Linked DNA regions of Homo sapiens: regions 2 and 3 are each linked to region 1. Evidence: promoter capture Hi-C in human tissues and cell types (Jung and others, 2019). All regions are on one chromosome and are shown on one strand. Each heading gives the region's core, a stretch centred on a gene start or on the middle of the fragment in contact. The rest is flanking DNA. Distances are from core to core; before and after follow the strand shown.

Region 1 (4,076 bases), core at 46-2,545:
ACAATTTAAAAACCACAGCTAGGGGTGTGAACACAGGCATGTTTTTCTGTGTGTCTGTGTGCCACAATCTGTACAAATCCTTAATTCCCTTTTAAGGAACAGATATATAATGAAAATCCGAAAGGAAACACATTAGAAATGCAAAGAGGTTTGCAAAACAAGAGGCTTCTTTCATTCCAGAAAACCACACCAAAACAAGGGGAGAAAAATGAATGCAATGGATATGTGTTTGCCAAAGTTTCAATCCTGCCCGGTGGAGACACTGCACTGGCACAAATTTTGAGGAGAAAAAAAGGGAGTTGGGGGGACGGGGAGCAAGCGAGTGCGGCCTGCAACAATGCAATCTCCATTTTGAACAATGTGCTTCTTTCCTCTTATAAATCTAGTTTTTTGCCACTTGATGTGCCCTCCCATTTCCCCTCTAAAGTTTAGGGGTCGGCGGGGTTGGCGGGAGATCGGAGCGGGATGCACAGCACATAAGTGAGCAAGGGGGGAGGGGAGAGGAGGTGGGGAATGAGTCTGCAGCAACTGCGCTGGGTGGGTACCTGGAGTGCTGCTGAAGCTGCTTTCCGTGGAGTAACTGGCGTCCTCGTCGTCATCTTCCAGCTCCTCCGGATAATCGGAGTCATCGTCGTCCTCCTCCATGTCATCCTCCTAGTTGTCCTCAGACTCCTGGGTCTCCTCGGCATCGCCGCCCCCCTCCTCTTACTCCTCCTCCTCGCTCTCGTAGTCATCATACACCACTCTGTTGACAGCCCTCCGGGCTGCGGTGGTCCGGGCTAGGTGGCTGCCCCCGCGCCCCCGCCGGGCCCGTGCGCTGGTGCCGGCGCGGGGCGGGCCGGCGGCGGTGGCTTCCTCCGGCTACTGCTGCCCACCCTGGGCGAGCTCAGCCGCGTCTTGGGCGCCACCTCAGCCTGGCGGCTGCCCACCTGCCCCGGCTACTACCGCGTATCGGCGAGGGGAGCCCCCGATGGGTCCGGACGTGGGCGGCGGCGGCGGCGGGGCCGGGGCGCAGCGCTCCGCAGCGGGAGCCGCGGGCTGCTTGGTCGGCCTGCCCCGCCGGCCCCTCTTGTTGGAGCCCAGGCGGCGGGAGAAGGGAAAGCTGACGGGGAGGGCCGGGCGCAGTGGCGGCGGTGGGGAGCGCCGGGGCCGGGTTGGGAGGCCCGAGGGGCTGGGCGGGAGGGGCCCGGCCGGCGGAAGCGAGTGGAGGGAGAAGGCTCAACCGAATTGCTGGGGCCCCACTCAAGATCGCCTTCAACCGCCACCTTGTTTCTTCCCTCTACAGGAGCGCGGTCACGTGAGGTGCGCCGCCGCCCAGCCTGGGAAGGGGGCGAGGTGGCGCGGCGGCCGCTAGGGGGAGCGCGGGAGCATTGAGTCGGGGGCGGAGAGCTCGGGGCGCCTGGACTTGGCGCAGCACGGCGCTCCGGGTGCGGGTGGCGCGGCTGAAAGAGGCCCGCAGCTCCTGACAAGCCCCGCGTCTAAGGCCTTCGGAGACCACAGTCTCCGCGGACCCCTGGCTGGAGCCCAAAGCCTGCCGGGTCTCCTTCCCGCGACTCCCCTTCCGCGGCTCGGAGAGGAAGGCAGGAGAGCCCCCAAATATCGTTCCCCTCCCGCCCTCTAGGGAAACTGAGGCTGAAAGAGGCAGCGAGAGAAAGAAAAAAAAAGTCGCGGAGGGGGGCGGCCCGAGCGACCTAAGGGACGGGGCAGCGCCAGCGACCGAGGAAAATTAGTCGGGGTGGGGTACAGGGAGACAAGCCCCCAGAATTTAGGAAACTCCGAAGCTTGGAAGTGGAGTCCTGAATTGACTCCGATGACAACTGCTCCGGATCTGTGCCAGGAGCCACACCCCGGGCTGCCACGCCTGGAGGGAGGGGGGTCCCTAAGACCTGTTGCATGGGATCCCCACTCGGAAAGCCTCAGTAAACTCCAGAATGCAACTACTGCATGTTCCAATCTCCCGCCACCTTCCCAGTGTCCCAGCTAGGAGCCTGACCACCTTAGCAAGAACTTACCTCTCCTTTGCAGTGGAAAAGAGGGAATCCTGCCTAAAACCTACTTCACGGTGTTACAGGTCTGTATTATCGGGAAATAACCTTAATTTATTTACCTGACAAATCACTAGGTTTGAGCTCAGCCCAGGGGACGAATCATGGTGACAGTTCAGGCACCCTCAAACCTTATCACAGGGACTCAACCCTGAGTGGTTGAGGTCAGTTCTTCAGATAAGAGAAAGGTTTGCCGGGCACAGTGGCTGACGCCTGTAATCCCAGCACTTTGGGAGGCCGAGGCGGGCGGATCACAAGGTCAGGAGTTCGAGACCATCCTGGCTAGCACAGTGAAACCCCATCTCTACTAAAAATACAAAAAAAATTAGCCGGGCGTAGGTGGTGCACGCCTGTAGTCCCAGCTACTCGGGAGGCTGAGGCAGGAGAATGGCGTAAAATCCGGGAGGCGGAGGTTGCAGTGAACCGAGATCGCGCCACTGCACTCCAGCCTGGGAGACAGAGCGAGACTCCGTCTCAAAAAAAAAAAAAAAAAAAAAAAAAAAAAAAGAAAAAGAAAGGTTTCGTAAACATATGTTAATATTTATTGAGATAAGTGACAACCAAAAAGTAATTTAAACAAAAATACTTGGCCGGGCGCGATAGCTCATGCCTGCAATCCCAGCCCTTTGAGAAGCCAAAGCCGGACGATTGCTTGAGGTCAAGAGTTTGAGACTAGCCTGGGCAACATAGCAGGACCTCGTCTCTAGAAAAAAATTGAAAAATTAGCCGGGCATGGTGGTGCGCACCTGTGGTCCCAGCTACGCCAGAGGGTGAGGGGGCAGGATCGCTTGAGCCTGGGAGGTGGATGTTGCACTGAGCCATGATTGCACCTCTGCACTCCAGCCTGAGTGACAGAGCAAGACCCTGTCTCAAAATTTTTAAAAAAGAAAGAAAAATACCTAATAGGAGATGGCTTATTTCAATCTAGTTAGGAAAATGGAACACATATGTGAAATGAAAATTAAAATACAAGCACTAATTGCCAAATACATGCATTCAATACAGTTTGGTTGAGCTCTAAGGGTGGCAAATGTGTGTTATGTCTTCAGGGACTAGGTAAGTAATGTAAGTCAATAAAGTAGACAAGGTGAAGACCTAGGCCAATGGAAATGCTCATATTTTGTTTGAAGAGGGTGGCCAGGTGTGGTGGCTCAGACCTGTAATCCCAGCACTTTAGGAAGCCAGGTGGGTGGATCACTTGAGCCCAGAAGTTCGAGGTTAGCCTGGCCAACATAGTGAAACCCCATCTCTACTTAAAACACAAAAATTAGCCGGGCATGGTGGCATGTGCCCATAGTCCTAGCTACTCAGGAGGCTGAGGCAGGAGAATCGCTTGAACCTGGAAGGCGGAGGTTGTGGTGAGCGGAGACCATGCCACTGCACTCCAGCCTGGGCAACAGAGCGAGACTCCTTCACCACCCCCTCCCCCCCACCAAAAAAAAGAGAAAAGTTAAACAAAATAGACCAAAAAAACCCAACTCTTCTTTGAATGGATTAGCAGGTATTTGCTGTTTTGCTCCTTTATGCTTTAATGAATTTATCTTTCTGTGGCTTCAAGAAGAAAAATGTTAAGTCAGTGAATACTGTATAGGTTGAGCATCCTTACCTAAAATGCTTTGGATCAGAAGTGTTTTGGGCATTTTTGGAATATTTGCATTCTACTTACCAGTTGATCATTTCTAATCTGAAAATCTGAAATGCTCTAATGAGCATTTCCTTTGAACAGCATGTTGACACTCAAAAACTTTTGGACCTTGGAGCATTTTGGATTTCAGATTTTCAGAATAAGGGTACTCCACCAGTATCCTTTTATCTATGATTTAATATAGCCCTTCTTTCTTCAGAATTACTGAGTGACTCATTCCTGTAATGCTGCTGAATTTTTATTCATTTACTACCTTAACAATAATATTTAACATTTATTGATCACTAATGTGCCCAGGCACTATGGTAGATGCCTCATCATTATACTTTTAAGTCTTATAGTGGCACACAGGCAGGTTTTATTATATCCTCATTTTACAAGTGAGA
Region 2 (4,081 bases), core at 1,455-3,954, 39 kb after region 1:
AAAAAAAAGTTGCAGGAGACAACCACATTCAAAATAAGCATCTTCAATTTTTTTCTTCTCCTAAAATCTACTAGAAAAAGTATTAAGATAACATTTGAATTAAATCAGTTACCATTATACATGTTTCATTATGAATGCACAGAGACAACTAAACTAAAAAGTTCTTGATCTGACCAAGACTTGTGGCCAAAAGGATAAAAAATGGATTTCAAAAAACATTAAACATTATAAAACGTAGAGACAGAGCTATCAGAGCTATTTTTAGATGCTTTCCCCAGAATTTCTCTACAGTTTAAATGGGATAACAAAAATCAAGATATTATTTACTATCTAGAATATCTTGGCTTACAAAAAATTTAGGGGTGTTAATTTTGAATACCATAGTCTATATTCTCTATGTAAATTAACACAGGCTTTACAAATTAAGGTTCTAGAGTAGTCCTCCATAACTTGTTTTTAAAGTCCCAAAGGTATTAACAGTTCATAACTGAATATTTAATCACTAATTCATCAAATAGCTTCAATAACATCCAGAACTATTATAATAGATGAATCCATGAACACACAAAAAAAATTTTTTGTTCTAAGGCACTGGGCAACACATTTTTTCTTTATTTTTTTTTTTTGAGAGAGAGAGTCTTGCTCTGTTGCCCAGGCTAGAGTGCAATGGAATGTTCTTGACTCACTGCAACCTCCGCCTCCTGGGTTAAAGCAGTTCTCCCTGCCTCAGCCTCCCGAGTAGCTGGGACTACAGACTACAGGCACAAGCCACCAAGCCTGGGTAATTTTTTTTTTTCTTTTCTTGAGTCAGCCTCACTCGGTTGTCCAGGCTGGAATGCAGTGGCACAATCTCGGCTCCCTGCAGCCTGCACCTCCCAGGTTCAAGCAATTCTCATGATTCAATCTCCAGAGTAGCTGGGATTATGGGGATGAAACACCATTCCCAGCTAATTTGGTTATTTTCAGTAGAGACGGGGCTTCACCATGTTGGCCAGGCTGGTCTCAAACTCCCTACCTCAGGTGATCTACCTGCCTCGGCCTCCCAAAGTGCTGGGATTACAGGCGTGAGCCATTGCGCCTGGCCGGCAACACTTTTTTTCTACTTAAAAACATTCTTATTGGGGGTGTGTGTGTAAAACACATTTGATCAGTTTCTTCGGAAGTTGCATCCAGGATAAAAACACCTTAATACAGCAAAAAATAGTCCAATGTCTAAATGCAGTAACAAAAATATTTGCCGAACAATACTCATCATGAAAATAGTACCCAAATAATCTTTGTGTATTCATTCTAAGAAGCAGTTTCAAGTAGTAATTGCCAAACAAAAGTTTTCATTTAAAAACAAGAGGCCGGATGCAGTGGCTCATGCCTGTAATCCTAGCCCTTTGGGAGGCTGAGGTGAGAGGATCGCTTGAGCCCGGGAGGCTGCAATGAAGCAAGACTGCTCACTGCACTCCAGCATGAGTGACAGAGCAAGACTCTGTCTAAAAAATAATTAATAGTAAGAAAATAAGAAGAAAAAATCACATTTTAAGAATTAAAAATTTTTTTTTCCTTGTTTTGAGAGAGGGTCCCACTATGTTGCCCAGACTCTATTCAAACTCCTGGGCTCAAGCAAACCTCCCAGCTCAGCCTCCTCAGTAGATGGAAATACAGGCAAGCATCACTGCTCCTGGTACATTTTAGAGAACTTGATGTTGGTTTTCTATCCTGGTTTCTTAAAAATATTATTGAAAACAAAAAAGGTACAAATAAACCTTGGATGGAAAAGAAACACAATATATCTACTTCCAACTTCTACTAGTTTCAAAGTTAAAATAGAATAGTTATTTTCAACATAGGCGTGGTGGCTCACGCCTATAATCCTAGCACTTTGGGAGGCCGAGGTGGGTGAATCACTTGAGGCCAGGAGTTTGAGTCCAGACTGGCAAACATGGTGAAATGAAATCCTGTCTCCATTAAAAATATAAAAATTAGGGGCTGGGCTCGGTGGCTCATGCCTACTGAAATCCCAGCACTTTGGGAGGCCGAGGTGGGCAAATCACCTGAGATCGGGAGTTCAAGAGACCAACCTGACCAACGTGGAGAAACCCCATCTCTACTAAAAATACAAAAAATTAGCGGGGCATGGTGGTGCATGCCTGTAATACCAGCTACTCTGGGAGGCTGAGGCAACAGAATTGCTTGAACCCGGGAGGTAGAGGTTGTGGTGAGCCGAGATTGCGCCATTGCACTCCAGCCTGGGCAACCAGAGTGAAACTCCATCTCAGAAAAAGAAGAAAAAAAATTAGCTTGTGTGGTGGCACCCGCCTGTAATCCCAGATACTTGGGAGGTGGAGGCATGAGAATCACTTGAACCTGGAGGCAGAGGCTGCAGTGATCTGAGATCAAACTACTACACTCCAGCCTAGGTGACAGAGGAATTATTTTCTGGAAACAGAGATATCAACAGAGTTCACTATCTCTTTTACTTCAATATCAAGAAAAATAAAAACAAAGTAAATCTGAGCAATTGTTGAACTTTATATATTTTGTCATGAAGATAGGAAAAAAGCTTAATATGACTACTTTCCAAAAATTTCAGTGATGGATAAACTATGTGTTCTACACAGGTCCCTGAGAACAAAGGGCTAATGAATGTATAAAATTCAAATTATAAGTTTCTGAAGAATTAAAGTCTAGACACGTCAGAAGTACCACAGAAAACAAAATACGATGACTAGAAATAAGGACTCTAAGCAGACCATTACAAATAATTTAAGGAAAACAAAAACCGTAATGCTACCCAGGTTACTTCTATATAAAAAATAGACCAGATCTAAGGTAAAAACTAGAAGTTACATTAGCTGCTAATACAAATACGAGATTTCAAATTTCTTACATAAAAACCCTAACTAGGGCCAGTCTCAGTGGCTCACACCTGTAATCCCCGCACTTTGGGAGACTGAGGTGAGAGGATCACTTGAGACCAGGAGTTTGAGACCAGCCTGGGAAATGTAGTGAGATTCCATCTTAACAAAAAAAATTTTTTTTAATTAGCCAGGCATGGTGGGAACGCCTGTAGTTCCAGCTACTCAGGAGGCTGAGGCAGGAGGATCACTTGAGCCCAGGAGTTGATCACACCACTGCACTCCAGCCTGGGTGACACGAGCAAGACCCTGTCTAAACAAACAAACAACCCCCAAAGAGTCATTAAAAAATGGTTATATTAGAGCATTTTGACAATTGGCCAATTGGCAAGGTTGTCTTTTTGTCTTTTTTAGACAGTGTCTCACTCTGTCACTCAGGCTGGAGTACAGTGGTGTGATCTTGGCTCACTGCAGCCTCAACCTCCAAGACTCAAGCAATCCTCCCACCTCAGCCTCCTGAGTAGCTGAGACTACAGAATAGCTGGGACTACAGGCATGTGCCACTGTGCCCAGTTAATCTTTTTTTACTTCTTACAGACAGGTTCTCCCTATGTTGCCCAGGCAAGCCTCAAGCTATTCTTCCATCTCAGCCTCCCAAGGTGTTGACGTTATAGCTGTGAGCCACCACGCCCAGTCTAATATTTGGGATTTTTTGGAGACAAGGTCTCACTCTGTTGCCCAGCCTGGAGTAGAGTTGTGCAATCATAGCTCACTGTAACCTTGAATTCCTGAGCTTACGCCATCCTGCCATCTTGGACTTCCAAGTACCTAGAACTACAGGACATACCACCATACCTGGCTAATTTTTGTAGAGATGGGGTCTGTGTTGCCCAGGCTGGTCTTGAAGTCCTGGCCTCAAGTCATCTTCCCACCTCAGCCTCCCAAAATGCTGAGATTACAGACATGAGCCACCAGGCCAGGACTCATTTTCTTTTTCTTTTTTTTTAGACAGAGTCTCGCTCTGTCACCAGGCTGGAGTGCCACTGGTGACACTACAGGTGTGCACCACGACACCCAGCTAGTTTTTTTGTATTTTAGTAGAGACGGGGTTTCACCATGTTAGCCAGGATAGTCTCGATCTCCTGACCTTGTGATCCACCCGCCTCAGCCTCCCAAAGTGCTGGGATTACAGGCGTGAGCCACCGTGCCCGGCCCACCAGGACTCATTTTCA
Region 3 (4,131 bases), core at 383-2,882, 42 kb before region 1:
CGGGGTTCCACTGTGTTAGCCAGGATGGTCTCCATCTCCTGACCTTGTGATCTGCCTGCCTTGGCCTCCCAAAGTGCTGGGATTACAGGCGTGAGCCACCGCACCTGGCCTATTCAGGGAAGGTTTCAAGCAGAAAGATGAACTGAGTTGGCTTTGGAGAGATTCACAGGACTCCCACAGGCAGAGTGAAATAAGGGCATTGTAGATGGACAAAGGCACAGATAAGCAGCAATGGGGACGGTGTGACTGGGGGACGCTGAGGGGCTGCTGTGGCTGGAATGGAGGGCTGCCACCATAATGGAAATGGCCAATGAGGCAAATAAGGTTGGATTAGGAGCATAGCATCAAGGGTGCCAGCTTATTAAATCCCTCTTCCAGTGTGCTAGCACTGGCCTGCTGGGAAAAGTAATACATCACATAATCAAACAAAAGGCAAAAAGAGGCGAGCTCCAGGAATGGGCACTGTAAACAGGACTCGCCCCAGGGTAGCCAGATGTAGGCTTTAGATTTGTTGATGCAGGTTGAGCATCTCTAATCCGAGGGGGAATGTCTCATATGGTGTCCAAGAAATGGTGACACATCTCACAGAGGGCCTAGGCTCAGGAGGGCTGGAGTATGAGACATTCCCCCTCCCCTGTGAATTTGAAAACGTGGCCAAAATTTTTTTTTAAAAATGGCTACCCTGTAGTTCTTTAACTGGACCTATTTAGACAACACCTTACACACTGGAGAAGGATGATACTATGTGAATCTAATAAGTCTACAAGACAATACTTCTCTCTTTTGGCTGTCTTCTTCCTCTCCAGGGTGATTACAACTCCGTGAGGGTGGAGATTATATGTCTCTCATCATTTAAGCAACAAGGAAATAAATTAGTGGCAGAGTAAGGGGTGACTCAGTGAGTACATCCAATTGTTGACATAGTTTTGGGTGGGAGAAATTTTGCTATTATATCAACTTAACTTCTTAAAATAGTCTAGTGGGATTAACTTGGTTTTATTTCACAGAGACCTCCTGGAAGCGAGGATCCTTTAACAATCCTGGAATATACATTGCAGTAAAAGAACAAAGCACACCTCAGCCTTAAATGACAGAAGAAGAATGTCAAGTGGGAAAGTGACGTTGGTTTTCAGTTTGTGGATTCTGAATCCACACAAACACAGGATTGTATTCTGAAAACCTGAATTAATTATTGTCCTTACCTCTATAAGACAAAAAATTATAATCAAAATTATTAGTATTACAGTCACAGATATTGCGAAGATGAGTTTGTTCTTATAGTCATCTCCTGGAACTTCTTTCATGAGCTAAAAAAAAGAAAAAAAAAAGAAAAAAGAAAGAACAATTAAAAAAAAAGAGAGAGAGAATGGAAGCTAACTTTTCAAAACCCCAGTATGCCAGTTGAGTAGCTTACAGGTTCTTTTGTTCTTTTTATTTTTTTTGAGACAGGATCTCACTCTGTCACCCAGGCGGGAGTACAGTGGTGCGATCACAGTTCACTACTGACTCGACCTCCCTGGGCTCAGGTGATCCTCCCACCTCAGCCTCCTGAGTAGCTGGGGCTACAGGCACGTGTCACCACACGCAGCTAATTTTTGTATTTTTTGTGAAGACGGGGTTTCACTACGTTGGCCGAGCTGGTCTTAAACTCCTGACCTCAAGTGATCCACCCACCTCGGCCTCCCAAAGTGCTGGGATTACAGGCATGAGCTACCACCCCCGGCCTACAGTTCATCTTGTGCCCTAATCTATTTCACTGTCTACATGAGCAAAGTGGGAGATCACTGTCATGGCCAAAGTTACATGGCCAAGACAAGCTATGGCCTGGGAGTCCCAGGTTCTCCTATGTGGGCACTCTCCTGGCATACGCTAAATGATGGGAAATCTGGGTCTCATGTTTCTGTGTGGTCCTCACCTCACTTGACTTCTGCTCTTTCTGTTCATTCTGTTCCATGTTCTCATTAATATAATTTGTTTTTTGTTGGTCCGTATCCCATTCTACATTCAATGCCTTTGCTTCCTGCTGCTCGCTGAGAAGCTTCATCAGGAGGCCTGTTCGCAACATGAGCTTGGCACAGCTCCCTTGCACATGTGTTTCTGAACATTCCATTTTCAAGGTCCGGATAACATGAGACATGAACTTTCTCACATCCTCGTTGGGGATGAGGGACCGTAGCTGCTCGGTTAGCTGAATTTCAAGCTGATCACCTGGGGACGAGAGCAATGGGTAATTGAAGCTTTTGGGCTCAGGGGACAAGTCAATGCCCACATTGTTGTATTCCCATTTTGTCTCAGTTTGTTTAACAGTTGGTTCTAAGTTGAATGCAGTCCCAGCGGAAACTGCCTCAGGAGGATGATTGTAGTTTGTGTTTTCAGAGATGTGTCTTTGAACACATCTCTTTTGTGTCTTTTACATTAGTTGTGTCTTTTACACTAGTGTTTTCTATAAAACGTTCTGAAGGAGCAACTACTTCCAGAAGAGGGTTTTCTTGAGGACTCAGGTCTCCTAAGGATGAAAAAACCCCTTGCGAATTTATGAGGCTCTTCGCTGCAGAGAACAGCGGCCTCTTTGCGAGCATCGGTCTGTTGAGATAACTGCCCTTTCTAAACTTTCTAATCTTTTTGGCCTTCGGTGTTCTGTGGGCCACACGGGAGTGAGTTTTATAAAAGCGGTATTTTTTTCTGGAATGTGTGATTGGTTTAGCAGCCTTCATGTTTTTCACTCTAGCCATTGCCATTTCTAAAATTAAAATGGTGTAGGCTAAGTCTTTCGATCTGTCTCTGACCTGAGGTAGGGCTTTTGCAGGGCTAGAGGCAGAAGGCACGCCCATGGAGAAGGGTTTCAGCACAGAGGAGACTGCTGCCTTATGCTCTTGGGTGAATGAAGGCTTGGTGTAGATGGTGTTTCCCACTACCTTCTCAGGCCCCTGCACTATGTGAGGCTGTTCCAGCTCCCTTGGGGCTGGACCCTCAAGCCTTTTTCCTTTGGCAGCATTGTCCACAAATGCCTGGGCATCCTGTTCTTTCCTAGTGCTGTGCTTTCCCACCTTTTTGAAGTGCCTTTCCTGGATGCTCCTTGGGCCCATGAGGACTCTGTTCACTCTCTGCAGGTTTTTGCCTACACTTTGAATCTGCCAGGCTGTTTTCCTGTGGTTGCACAGTTTCTAATTTTTTTTTCAAATATTTGGTTTTTAAATTTGTTACCTAGAAGGCTGGACTGTGAGGGGCTCTTTCTATTGTTTTTCAAAATACTCAGGAGCCTATCTCCATCTTGTACATTTGAAAATAGCTGTTCAGTGAACGGTAACAATATTGATTCTGCACCTAGATTTCCCAGTGAGAGATAAGGCAAGATGTAACTTAGTGCACTGCTAACATCACTCTCGTCATTGGTGTCTAGCTGCTCACCCCCAAAGCCTGACAAGTTGATGCCACTGCTGTCTGAGGGCGCCTCCGACTCAATAGTCAGCTGAGTGCTCATGTGCTGCTTCCGGGCTTGTAACATCTTCATGAACGCTCCTTCTGGATTCCCTACAGATGCTTCTTCAGCTGTCAGAAAAGAAGAGACTGCTTTGATCATGAAATATCTTTGATCATCTTTCATACTCAGTCCATAGCTATATGCCCCAGTCACACAGAGTAAGAGTCAGCAAACATTCGAGTGCCATTCAGAGAGGAGAAACATACACCCAAACCTAAACCTATGAAATGGCAACAACGAAAGGAGGAAAAGACATGGCCACCTACTTGGAACATTCCATAGTGTGACATAGAGTAACTCTGCTTAGGATTATTCCGTTGATCCCCAGGGGCCAATTGCCCAGTGCTCAGTCAAAGCCCAAGGTGGAAGACAAGTGCTTCCCTGATGAGCTGATGAACTGGCCTCTCTGCAGACTGCTCCATACCCTGTGCTGTCCTGCCTCATATGCAGAGAGAGCACAAGGCTCCCACTCTCCTCATCCTCAGTGTGCCCGTGTTCTTGCTACCATCGCAGCTGAATGCAATCAAAGGCGGTCCTCTGAGAGGAGCAGGGTGGAGATGCTAAAGGAGCAGGGCGGGATGCCCCCTCCCATTGCTGATAGATCCTCATCTGGCATGTGCTCCACCCACCCACCCCATTCTCTGCTCCCA

The links. The method cuts DNA at HindIII sites, captures the fragments that hold promoters and counts their contacts. A contact is called where the count stands out against the background at its distance.
Region 2: a contact is called between a fragment that was not itself captured here and the fragment with the promoter of LRRC37B in region 1, in 1 of the 25 tissues and cell types used here (H1 embryonic stem cells).
Region 3: a fragment that was not itself captured here is called in contact with the fragment with the promoter of LRRC37B in region 1 in 1 of the 25 tissues and cell types used here (spleen).

Annotation. Positions count from the first base shown.
Region 1 is chr17:32,004,602-32,008,677 of GRCh38, reverse strand. LRRC37B (leucine rich repeat containing 37B) reads right to left here and starts at 1,295. Exons shown (of 15, transcript NM_001321350.2): 1 at 546-1,295. LOC124903972 reads left to right here and starts at 971. Exons shown (of 4, transcript XM_047437248.1): 1 at 971-1,302; 2 at 1,973-2,071. The coding sequence starts at 971. RefSeq lists silencers at 890-1,239, 1,280-1,329 and an enhancer at 1,372-2,294. The HindIII fragment of the contact is 11,687 bases long and covers 1-3,525 here.
Region 2 is chr17:31,967,349-31,971,429 of GRCh38, reverse strand. The region is part of intron 5 of SUZ12 (SUZ12 polycomb repressive complex 2 subunit); the gene reads right to left. Among named protein-coding and RNA genes, the nearest start is that of SUZ12, 32 kb to the right of the region's middle. The HindIII fragment of the contact is 3,191 bases long and covers 1,109-4,081 here.
Region 3 is chr17:32,047,179-32,051,309 of GRCh38, reverse strand. LRRC37B (leucine rich repeat containing 37B) reads right to left here. Exons shown (of 15, transcript NM_001321350.2): 12 at 3,409-3,549; 13 at 1,916-2,208; 14 at 1,203-1,307. Among named protein-coding and RNA genes, the nearest start is that of VILMIR, 34 kb to the left of the region's middle. The HindIII fragment of the contact is 3,391 bases long and covers 1-3,327 here.